Linked DNA regions of Homo sapiens: all the other regions are linked to region 3. Evidence: promoter capture Hi-C in human tissues and cell types (Jung and others, 2019). All regions are on one chromosome and are shown on one strand. Each heading gives the region's core, a stretch centred on a gene start or on the middle of the fragment in contact. The rest is flanking DNA. Distances are from core to core; before and after follow the strand shown.

Region 1 (2,700 bases), core at 34-2,533, 1.1 Mb before region 3:
ACCGTTCACTCCCCTTGAAAGGGGTGCTGAAGCCAGGGACCCAAGTGGTCTGGCTCTGTGGGCCCCATGCCATGGAGCCCAGCAAACTAAGATCCACTGGCTTGAAATTCTTGCTGCCAGCACAGCAGCAGTCTGAGATGGACCTGGGATGCTTGAGCTTGGTGGGGGGAGGGACATCCACTATTGCTGAGGCTTGTGTAGGCAGTTTTACCCTCAGAGTGTAAACAAAGCTGCCAGGAAGTTCAAACTGGGCGGAGCCCACTGCAGCTCAGCAAGGCTGCTGTGGCCAGACTGCCACATTTCTGCTCTCTGGGCAGGGCATCTCTGAAAAAAAGGCAGCAGCCCCAGTCAGGGACTTATAGATAAAACCCCCATCTCCCTGGAACAGAGCACCTGGGGGAAGGGGTGGCTATGGGTGCAGCTTCAGCAGATTTAAACATTCCTGCCTCACAGCTCTGAAGAGAGCAGCAAACCTCCCAGCACAGCATTCAAGCTCTGTTAAGGGTCAGAATGCCTCCTCAAGTGGGTCCCTGACCCCCGTGTATCCTGACTGGGAGATAACTCCCAGTAGGGGCTGACAGACACCTCATACAGGAGAGCTCTGGCAGGCATCTAGCAGGTGCCCCTCTGGGACAAAGCTTCCAGAGAAAAGAACAGGCAGTAATCTTTGCTGTTCTGCAGACTTCGCTGGTGATATCCAGGCAAACAGGGTCTGGAGTGGACCTCAGAAAACTCCAGCAGATCTTCAGCAGAGGAGCCTGACTGTTAGAAGGAAAACTAACAAACAGAAATGAATAGCAAGTCTACTCAAAGACCCCATCTGAAGGTCACCAACATCAAAGACCAAAGGTAGATAAATCCACAAAGATGGGGGGAAACAGCTCAAAAAGGCGGAAAACTCCAAAAACCAGAACACCACTTCTCCTCCAAAGGATCACAAATCCTCACCAGCAAGGGGACAAAACTTGATGGAGAATGAGTTTGATGAATTGACAAAAGTAAGCTTCAAAAGGTGGGTAATAACAAACTCCTCTGAGCTAAAGGAGTATGTTCTAATCCAATGCCAGGAAGCTAAGAACTTTGAAAAAAGGTTAGATGAATTTCTAACTAGAATAACCAGTTTAGAGAACATAAATGACCTGATGGAGCTGAAAAACACAGCACGAGAACTTCATGAAGCATACAGAAGTATCTATAGCTGAATCAATCAAGCGGAAGAAAGGATATCAGAGACTGAAGATCAACTTAATGAAATAAAGTGAGAAGACAAGATTAGAGAAAAAATAAAAAGGAATAAATAAAGCCTCCAAGAAACATGGGACTATGTGAAAAGACTAAATGTACATTTGATTGGTGTACCTGAAAGTGACAGGGAAAATGGAACCAAGCTGGAAAACACTCTTCAGGATATTATCCAGGAGAACTTCCCCAACCTAGCAAGACAGGCCAACATTCAAATTCAGGAAATACAGAGAACACCACAAAGATACTCCTCGAGAAGAGCAACCTCAAGACACACAATCATCAGATTCACCAAGGTTGAAATGAAGAAAAAAATGTTCAGGGCAGCAGAGAAAAAGGTTGGGTTACCCACAAAGGGAAGCCCATTAGACTAACAGCAGATCTCTCTGCAGAAACCCTACAAGCCAGAGGAGAGCGGGGGCCAATACTCAACATTCTTTAAGAAAAGAATTTTCAACCCAGAATTTCATATCCAGCCAAACTAAGCTTTATAAGTGAAGGAGAAATAAAATCCTTTACAGACAAGCAAATGCTGAGAGATTTTGTCACCACCTGGTGGTGGTGTAAGGCTCTTGCCTTACAAGAGCTCCTGAAGGAAACACTAAACTTGGAAAGGAACAACCGGTACCAGCCACTGCAAAAACATACCAAATTGTAAAGAACATCAACACTACGAAGAAACTGCATCAACTAATGGACAAAATAACCAGCCAGCATCATAATGACAGGATCAAATTCACATATAACAATATTAACTTTAAATGTTAATGGGCTAAATGCCCCAATTAAAAGACACAGACTGGCAAATTGGATAAACAGTCAAGACCCATCGGTGTGCTGTATTCAGGAGACCCATCTCACATGCATTGACACACATAGGCTCAAAATAAAGGGACAGAGGAATATTCAGCAAGCAAATGGAAAGCAAAAAAGAGCAGGAGTTGCAATCCTAATCTCAGATAAAAACAGACTTTAAAGCAACAAAGATCAAAAGAGACAAAAAAGGACATTATATAATGGTAAAGGGATCAATTCAAAAAGAAGAGCTAACTATCTTAAATATATATGTACCCAATACAGGAGCACCCACATTCATAAAGCAAGTTCTTAGAGACCTACAGACTTAGACTCCCACACAATGATAGTGGGAGACTTTAACATCCCACTGTCAATATTAGACAAATCAACGAGACAGAAAATTAACAAGGATATCCAGGACCTGAACTCAGCTCGGGAACAAGTGGACCTAATAGATATGCACAGAACTCTCCACCCCAAATCAACAGAATAGACATTCTTCTCAGCACCTCATCGCACTTGTTCTAAAATTGACCACATAATGGGAAGTAAAACACTTCTCAGCAAATGCAAAACAATGGAAATCATAACAAACAGTCTCTCAGAACACAGTGCAATCAAATTAGAACCCAGGATTAAGAAACTCACTCAAAACCACAC
Region 2 (2,700 bases), core at 82-2,581, 1.0 Mb before region 3:
CCCCTTGCTTATCTGTATATTCCCAAAACAATGCTGAGAAACCTGGCTCCCACCATCCACCATTCATTGTTCAGTTCTAGTATAATGTATGGCAGTATGAGAATCATTACTCCATATCCTTAGGGGAAACAAACGTATCAACTGCACATAGTGCTTATGTACAGTTCCTTTTGCCTTTAGTCTCACAGACTCCACTTATTTCCAAAGTTACTTAGGTCAGCAATTTTCCCCAAATCCCTCAGTGTGCTTGTTTCATACATTTGTGATACAGCTAGATTATCTTCTCACAATATGCATTTTTTCCTGTGACTCCAAAACACCCTGATAGATTTTTTAATTTGCATACATTAACATTTACTCCTTTTATTGTCAAGTTCTACGAGTTTTGACAAATGCATAATGTCAAGTATCCACCGTCACAGTATCATACAGGATTGTATTACCACCCTAAAAATCCCACATACTTCACCTATTCATCCCCCCAACAACAACCCCCACACACACCAAAATCCTTAGCAATCACTGATATTTTTCTTATCTCTGTAGTTTTAGCTATTCCAGAATGTCATATATATTTGCAAACATTTTCAATTTGGCTTTCTGCACTTAAAAATGTGCATTTAAGTTTCTTCCATATCTTTTCATGGCATAATCGCTCATTTCCTCTTATAATTGAATAATATCCTATTGTAAGGCCGGGCGCAGTGGCTCACGCCTGTAATCCCATCCCTTTAGGAGGCTGAAGTAGGTGTATCATCTGAGGTCAGGAGTTCGAGACCAGCCAGACCAACATGGAGAAACAGAGCAAAAAAATAGATGTGTGTCCTAACTAAAAATTCAAAATTAGCCAGGTCTAGTGGCACATACCTGTAATCTCAGCTACTCGGGAGGCTGAGGCAGGAGAATCGCTTGAACCCGGGAGATAGAGGTTGCAGTGAGCTGAGATTGCGCCATTGCACTCTAGCCTGGGCAACAAGAGTAAAAAAAAAAACAACAACATATATATATATATATATATATATGTCCAAAATCAGTTTTACTGAGACAAAAACCAAATGTTGGCCAACTTGTGTTCTCTCTGGAGGTGAGAAGTTATTCCTTGCCTCTTCTAGTTTCTGGCCAATGCCAGCAATCCTCGCTTGACTTGTGGCTGCCTCACTTCCATCCCTGCCTCCCTGATCCCGTTGCCTCTTCTTCATCCTTTCATATATATATATAAACACACACACACTATTGTATGGCTATACCACTATTTGTTTATCCACATACTTTTGTGTTTTTAAAAAAGTTTTCCAGCTTCATTGAGGCATAATTGACAAATGAAATTGTATAAATTTAAGGTGTATAATGTGATAATTTGATATGTGTACATTGTGAAACGATTATCACTATTAGGTTAGTTAACACATCAATCACTTCACCTAGTTACCTTTTGTGTGTACGTGTGTGGTATGAACAATTTAAGATCTCTATTAACAATTTAAAGTGTACAATACAGTATCATTAACTATAGTCACCATGCTGTACATTAGATCCCCAGAATGTATTCATCTTATAACTGAAAATTTGTGCCCTTTCACCAACATTTCCCCATTTCCTCTAGCCCCAGCTCCTGGCAATCACCATTCTATTATCTGTTTCTATGGGTTCAACTTTTTAAAATTCTACATGTAAGTAAGGTAATACAGTATTTGTGTTTGTCTGACTTGTTTTGCTTTGCATAATTCTCTCAGGATTCATCTATGTTGTCACAAATTGTGGTATTTCCTTCTTTTTTAAGGCTGAATGATATTCCATTTTCTGTATATAACACAATTTCTTTCCCTATTCATCTATCAACTGACGTTTAGGTTGTTCCCATGTCTTGGCTACTGTGAATAATGCTGCAATGAACATGAGAGAGCAGATTCTCTTAGAGATACTAATTTCATTTCCTTTGGATACATGCCCATGAGTGGGATTGCTGGGTCATATGGTAGTTCTGGTTTTAATTTATTTTTTGAGGAACCTCCATACTGTTTTCCATAATGGATGTACCAATTTACATTCCCACCAACAGTGTACAAGGATTCCCTTTTCTCCACATCCTTGCCAACATTTGTCTCTTGTCTTCTTGATGATAGCCATTCTAACTGGTGTGGTTATATCTCTCGTTGCAGATTTTATTTGCATTTCCCTGATGATTAGTGATGTTGACCACCTTTTCATAATATGCTTTTGTGTATTAGCCTTGTATCCCTTGCTATCATCCCCTATTAGTTTCAGGGGTTGGTTTTTGGGTGGTTTTGGGGGTTTGTGGTGTGTTTTATTGGTCAACTAATTGCAATTGTTTAGATACAGAATCATGTCATCTGTGAATCAAAATGGTTTTATTCCTTTTTTTCCTAATGTGTATCACTTTTATTTCATTTTATTTTCTTATTACACTATCTATGAGTTCTAGCACAAGGCTGAATAGAAGTGGTGAGAAAAGCCATAGTCACCTTGTTGCTCCTAATTTTAGGAGAAAATTATTTAGTTTTTCACTAGTAAGTATCACGTTGGCTGTAGGTTGTTTTAGATGTTCTTTATAAGGTTGAGAAAGCTCGCCCAATTCTAGTTTGAATAGAGTTTTTATCATGAATCGGTATTGTATTTTGCCAAATGCTTCTTCTGCATTATTTGAATGATCATATCACTTTTCTTCCTTAGCCTGTTGAT
Region 3 (2,700 bases), core at 181-2,680:
AACCTACAGTCTGAGTCTGGCCCAGCACAGGCTACACACACTTTATTCCATATCTGAGTCCAGATACCCCGGCTCTGAGAGGCTATTCTCATTGTAACCACCGCTTGCCTGGGGCTGAGGCTCGGCGCTGACCCGGCCATAACTGCCACGGGCTGGACAATGGGCACATCTGTCCTTTCTCTGAGGGATGAAAGCACCTAAGCGGACACGGCTCTGCCTTTTGTTGCGGATTTTTTTTCTTTCTTTTGTAAATGAAAGAAAGCCGCGGCATGTGGCGGCCGGGTGTACGTCTCAAACTGGGGGCCTCCGCACACGTCCCCACCAGGCCCAAAGACCAGGTTCGATTCCAGATTGGAGCGTGACTGTGGGAAGGGCGAAATTACTCCCGAAGCTGAATTGATTTTCAAATCTGGAGGCGTCTCTCGGGGACGCCGGGAAAAGGGCGTCCCTAGGGGCCAAGCGGAGACCCGCGCGCCGGCGTCCACCCTGTCTGCGTCAGTACTTCTGGAAAGCAACCGCCTCCGGGTGCTTTAGCAGGAGGGCCTTGGGAGTAACCGCAGGGACGGCCCGAGCCTCCACGGCCCCACCAGCACCCGGAAGTTAACATGGGTACCCTCCAGGGCACTCCCTCCGCTCTCCCTCGCCCCCCTCCACAGGCCGAGTCATCGGCGAAGCGGACGCACAGCCTTAATTATGAGCTGAGCGGGAGAAGGAGCCAGGCGGCGGGGGACAGTGAGGTATGGCCCGAACTGGGATTCTTGGCACTGATTACTCCTCTCCCCAGGGCATGGATGAGAAAGGGTGGGCAAGTATGTATCTGGGAGGACGAAGGGTGCCGGGTCAACGGCCGCCAAACGGACCCAGCCCTTTAAGCAATCTGCACCCCACCCCACCCCAACCCCCATCCCCCAATAGGCCGTGAATTCAAGGGTGGGAAAGCGCACTCCCAGCAGCCCCCCGGGAAATAAAGCTTAGTGGGCTAGAGCCGAAGGGGTGATGACACAGTCCCCAGCTCCCCGGGCAAGCTGCACCGGGAAGCAGCAACTGGAGAGAGAGGGGCGATGTCTCCAAGCACAGCACTCCAGCCGCTAGAAGCCCGACACGAGCGTCCCCGGGCTGGGAGGACAGAGCCCACTCAAGCAAGGGAGGCGAGCGAGCCAGGCGCGAGTCTCCTGGGATTGCAGCGGCGGCCCCAGGTCGCGCTCTGCGCCAATCTTTCGCACGTGCCCGCAGCTCCCTGGCCATCCAGCGCCGCAGGGAAGGCGCTGGGCCCCCTCCTTCATTTGTACCGGGACGCCAAGGGCCTGGCGCGCCGCGACCTAGGGGGCGGGGGCGGGCCTCGCGCATGCGCGCTGCGCCTGGCGGGCGTGAGGGCGGGCCGCTGCGGCGGCGGCGGCGGCGGCTACCGAACCGCGGCCACAGAGTCTGTAACAGTAACAGAGCCATGGCTCAAGCTGGCCAGCGGGGCGGGCAGGCAGCAGACGCGGCAGGCGCGCGGGCCGCGGCAGGGGAGCCGGAGACCTCAGAATTTTAAGAAAGAGAGGGGCGAGAGGTGGCCGAGGCGGGCGGGCTGGGGCACTGCGCTCTCCCAACGGCGCGGATCCTCTTTGGAAATTAATATTAAAAAAAAAAAAGCCGAGGACGCAGAGGGGAAGGTGGGGGGTAAGAGGGAAGGCGAGACACACACACACACACACACGCACACGCACACACGGACACACACACACGGAGAGAGAGAGAGAGAGAGACAGAGCCCCACAGTGAGAGGAAGGAAGGCAACAGTCGCCAGCAGCCGATGTGAAGACCGGACTCCGTGCGCCCCTCGCCGCCTCTGCCTGGCCACATCGATGTTGTGTCCGCCGCCTGCTCGCCCGGATCACGATGAACGCGCAGCTGACCATGGAAGCGATCGGCGAGCTGCACGGGGTGAGCCATGAGCCGGTGCCCGCCCCTGCCGACCTGCTGGGCGGCAGCCCCCACGCGCGCAGCTCCGTGGCGCACCGCGGCAGCCACCTGCCCCCCGCGCACCCGCGCTCCATGGGCATGGCGTCCCTGCTGGACGGCGGCAGCGGCGGCGGAGATTACCACCACCACCACCGGGCCCCTGAGCACAGCCTGGCCGGCCCCCTGCATCCCACCATGACCATGGCCTGCGAGACTCCCCCAGGTATGAGCATGCCCACCACCTACACCACCTTGACCCCTCTGCAGCCGCTGCCTCCCATCTCCACAGTCTCGGACAAGTTCCCCCACCATCACCACCACCACCATCACCACCACCACCCGCACCACCACCAGCGCCTGGCGGGCAACGTGAGCGGTAGCTTCACGCTCATGCGGGATGAGCGCGGGCTGGCCTCCATGAATAACCTCTATACCCCCTACCACAAGGACGTGGCCGGCATGGGCCAGAGCCTCTCGCCCCTCTCCAGCTCCGGTCTGGGCAGCATCCACAACTCCCAGCAAGGGCTCCCCCACTATGCCCACCCGGGGGCCGCCATGCCCACCGACAAGATGCTCACCCCCAACGGCTTCGAAGCCCACCACCCGGCCATGCTCGGCCGCCACGGGGAGCAGCACCTCACGCCCACCTCGGCCGGCATGGTGCCCATCAACGGCCTTCCTCCGCACCATCCCCACGCCCACCTGAACGCCCAGGGCCACGGGCAACTCCTGGGCACAGCCCGGGAGCCCAACCCT
Region 4 (2,700 bases), core at 152-2,651, 1.2 Mb after region 3:
TGACAGATCTTTGCCTCCAATCTTCCCCACCCTTCCCTTTATGCTTCAAAATGCTACAAAGTCATCTTCCCAAAGCAGCTCTGATTATATAAATTTTTGCTCAGAAACATCTGATATACCCCCACTGCATGCAGAGTGAAATCTGGGCTTCTTGGAGCATTCAAGACTCTCCATAATATGTTTTGGTAGGCCAAGAGTTAGACCACTTGGATACCTTGATCTCTTGCTAAGTATTATTTACTTTCCCTACCCTATAAATCATCTGCCTCAAACATTAATCTTTGTACCTTCAACACCCCCTCTATTTTCTGTACTGTATTTGCAGCATTTCTTGTCTATCTCAGCCTGTCAAAATTAAACTCAGCGTTTATGTCAGGTTATGTCTCCATAATGCCTTATCCACGCCCTTAGTCAACATTCTTCTTCCTCTTCTGTGGTGCATAAAGACTTTTATATCTCAATCACACCACCTTTGGCGTTCTGCCTGGTTTTACAGATAGTTATGTCTTGGTGTCCCCTACTTCCTTACCCTGTGATTTAAGCATAGTATGGGTTAGAACATTTGCCATGAATTGGCCTGTGGCAGGGAGCTGATGATCCTTGTTATCAACCATTCAAAGTTTAGCAGATAGTTTGGAAAATCAGGCGATTCTGCTAATTCATGAAATTACTCATGAAAAAAAGTCGAAAGGAGTCACCCGTCTCTAAGGCGGCTTTTTGCTGTCTAGAATAACCGTGACAAAAGGTGGGAGCAAAATAATTAGCTTTCAGGGGAGTATGGCTTCTCTAAATAGTTGCAAGATGCCTACATTGTTTATGTAAAATAAAATATCTTATGTACTGCACTTTCGAAAAGACTGAAGATATCTAAGATATCTCCAGGTGGAAATTCCCGGTGACGGGTGTCCTTCTGAGGTCAACGGCACTGACCATTGCACACTGTATTCTGGAATACGTTCAACACAGCAAAACCGGCTCGTGGCGCGTCCCCGGCGTCCGACTGCTGCGTGGCCCCGAGCGACCTGCACCCCACTCGCCCCCGCCCCCACCTCCGCCCCAGTCCGCAGCGGCTACAGCCCGGGAGGCTCCAAGGGAACTCCCGCACGTCTGCGCGCGCAATCACGGGACGGCGGGTCGGCGTGGCGCGCGCAATTGCCCTGGAAACCACGGCGCGCGCACGCGCAAACGCGGGTGATGGGGGGAAGAAAGACTGAGCTGAGAGCTTTGCCGCGGGGGGAGGGCTCTACCTCGCTCCCCCGCGGTGGGCGCGCGCGCTGGCCCGCTCCCTTGCTGCACGCTCCCGGCTCGCGCGTTCCCCCCGGTGCCCTCCCCCGCCTCACAAGCACCCTTGCCCTCCCGCATTTGTGCGCCGGTGCAGCAGGCAGTGGGAACATCCGGGCATTTCCGCAGCTGAGCGGCGACCCGGGCGGCGGCGGCGGTCGAGGAGCTCCCATGGCAGGGACGAGGCGGAGGGAAGGCGAAAGGGGGGCGAGGAGTTAAGCCAGAGCCTCCGCGGGGCGGGTTTCCGAGGGAGGCACAGAGGGAAACGGCTCTCGCAGCCCGAGGAGGGTCAGGCGCGGAGCTTGTCGCACCTCCCGCGCATTCTGTCCAGCCCGGGCTCCGGAGATGCATCTGCATCAGGTCCTCACCGGAGCTGTCAACCCTGGAGACAACTGCTACTCCGTGGGCAGCGTCGGGGATGTCCCCTTCACGGTGAGCGGCGGCCGGGAGCCCTAGGGGAAGATACCAGGGGCCAGACGCGGGGGCAGGGACCTCCTGTCCAGGGCGCACGCCTCCTCAGGAGGCTGTGAGATGTTGGTGGGCCCCACCCGTGGCCCCTTTGCAGCCTTGGGGTTTAGTTCCCCCTGGGACCCGTGGGACCGTGGGTCCTGCGTCTGGTGTAGGAAATCACCCGTTAGGGGAAAGGCTTAGGAATCCACCGCACTCTCCACCCCAAGCAAACGGGCCTGAGGTGACTGGACTAGAAGGCTCCTCCTAGGGCGGCCCTTCGGTCTGCGGTGGAGGAAAGTGGTGGTGCGGCTGAAACCCCAGAGCGTCCGTTTCGCAGCTGCTCTCGGCGTGGAGGCGAAGAGACTTGGTGTTGGTCTCGGAGCGTGGAGGTGAAGAGACTTGGTGTTGGTCTCGGAGCGTGGAGGCGATGCTGCGCCTTGGCTCCCCCTGCCCGCTGTGCTAGGGCAGCGAGGAGCTGCTGGAGTCTGTGGCTTTAAGCCTGACTCTGTATCTCCTGATAATGCAGGATCTTAATTCCAACAAAAAGATAGAAAAATTCATCCTCCGCGCCCGAAAGATTTAGAATGGAAAGGTTAGAGTCACAGTGGCTTGGAGAGCTGTCTCATTTATCAGGAGGTCGTAGTTTGGTAATCCTCCTAGATAATATTTTAATCTGTAAGGTAGCCTTTTTTTTAATATAGTAAGGCAATGTGAAAAATTTACAACAGTGCTTGTTTGAGAAAAGTGTATGTATACATAACGTTTTAGAATCTCCTTAAAAGCTAGATGAAGTAGACATGTTTCTCAAGGAGATTGGACTCATCAGTCCTTTTTGAGAGTGGAAATGTTTAAACCAAGCCTTGGAGCTTCGTTTACTCATAGATAGACTCCCATAAATTGAGTTCTTTTTTAAAGAATGAAATTTATACATGGTCTTCCTTATAAGGAACTGTAGGCAGCCAGACCTTT

The links. The method cuts DNA at HindIII sites, captures the fragments that hold promoters and counts their contacts. A contact is called where the count stands out against the background at its distance.
Region 1: a fragment that was not itself captured here is called in contact with the fragment with the promoter of ONECUT1 in region 3 in 1 of the 25 tissues and cell types used here (dorsolateral prefrontal cortex).
Region 2: a fragment that was not itself captured here is called in contact with the fragment with the promoter of ONECUT1 in region 3 in 1 of the 25 tissues and cell types used here (dorsolateral prefrontal cortex).
Region 4: the fragment with the promoter of DMXL2 here is called in contact with the fragment with the promoter of ONECUT1 in region 3 in 1 of the 25 tissues and cell types used here (heart right ventricle).

Annotation. Positions count from the first base shown.
Region 1 is chr15:53,891,165-53,893,864 of GRCh38, reverse strand. It overlaps a transcript of UNC13C not described here. Among named protein-coding and RNA genes, the nearest start is that of UNC13C, 86 kb to the left of the region's middle. The HindIII fragment of the contact is 3,102 bases long and covers 1-2,700 here.
Region 2 is chr15:53,800,386-53,803,085 of GRCh38, reverse strand. No RefSeq gene overlaps it. Among named protein-coding and RNA genes, the nearest start is that of WDR72, 42 kb to the right of the region's middle. The HindIII fragment of the contact is 9,303 bases long and covers 1-2,700 here.
Region 3 is chr15:52,789,066-52,791,765 of GRCh38, reverse strand. It overlaps ONECUT1 (one cut homeobox 1), which reads left to right and starts at 1,430. Exons shown (of 2, transcript NM_004498.4): 1 at 1,430-2,700. The coding sequence starts at 1,882. LOC105370824 (a long non-coding RNA gene) reads right to left here and starts at 1,336. Exons shown (of 2, transcript XR_001751550.2): 1 at 1-1,336. RefSeq lists enhancers at 1-374, 375-1,143, 1,140-1,434 and a silencer at 1,323-1,392. The HindIII fragment of the contact is 12,558 bases long and covers 1-2,700 here.
Region 4 is chr15:51,621,472-51,624,171 of GRCh38, reverse strand. It overlaps DMXL2 (Dmx like 2), which reads left to right and starts at 1,401. Exons shown (of 44, transcript NM_001378457.1): 1 at 1,401-1,713. The coding sequence starts at 1,627. RefSeq lists a silencer at 1,264-1,483 and an enhancer at 1,854-2,263. The HindIII fragment of the contact is 6,819 bases long and covers 1-2,700 here.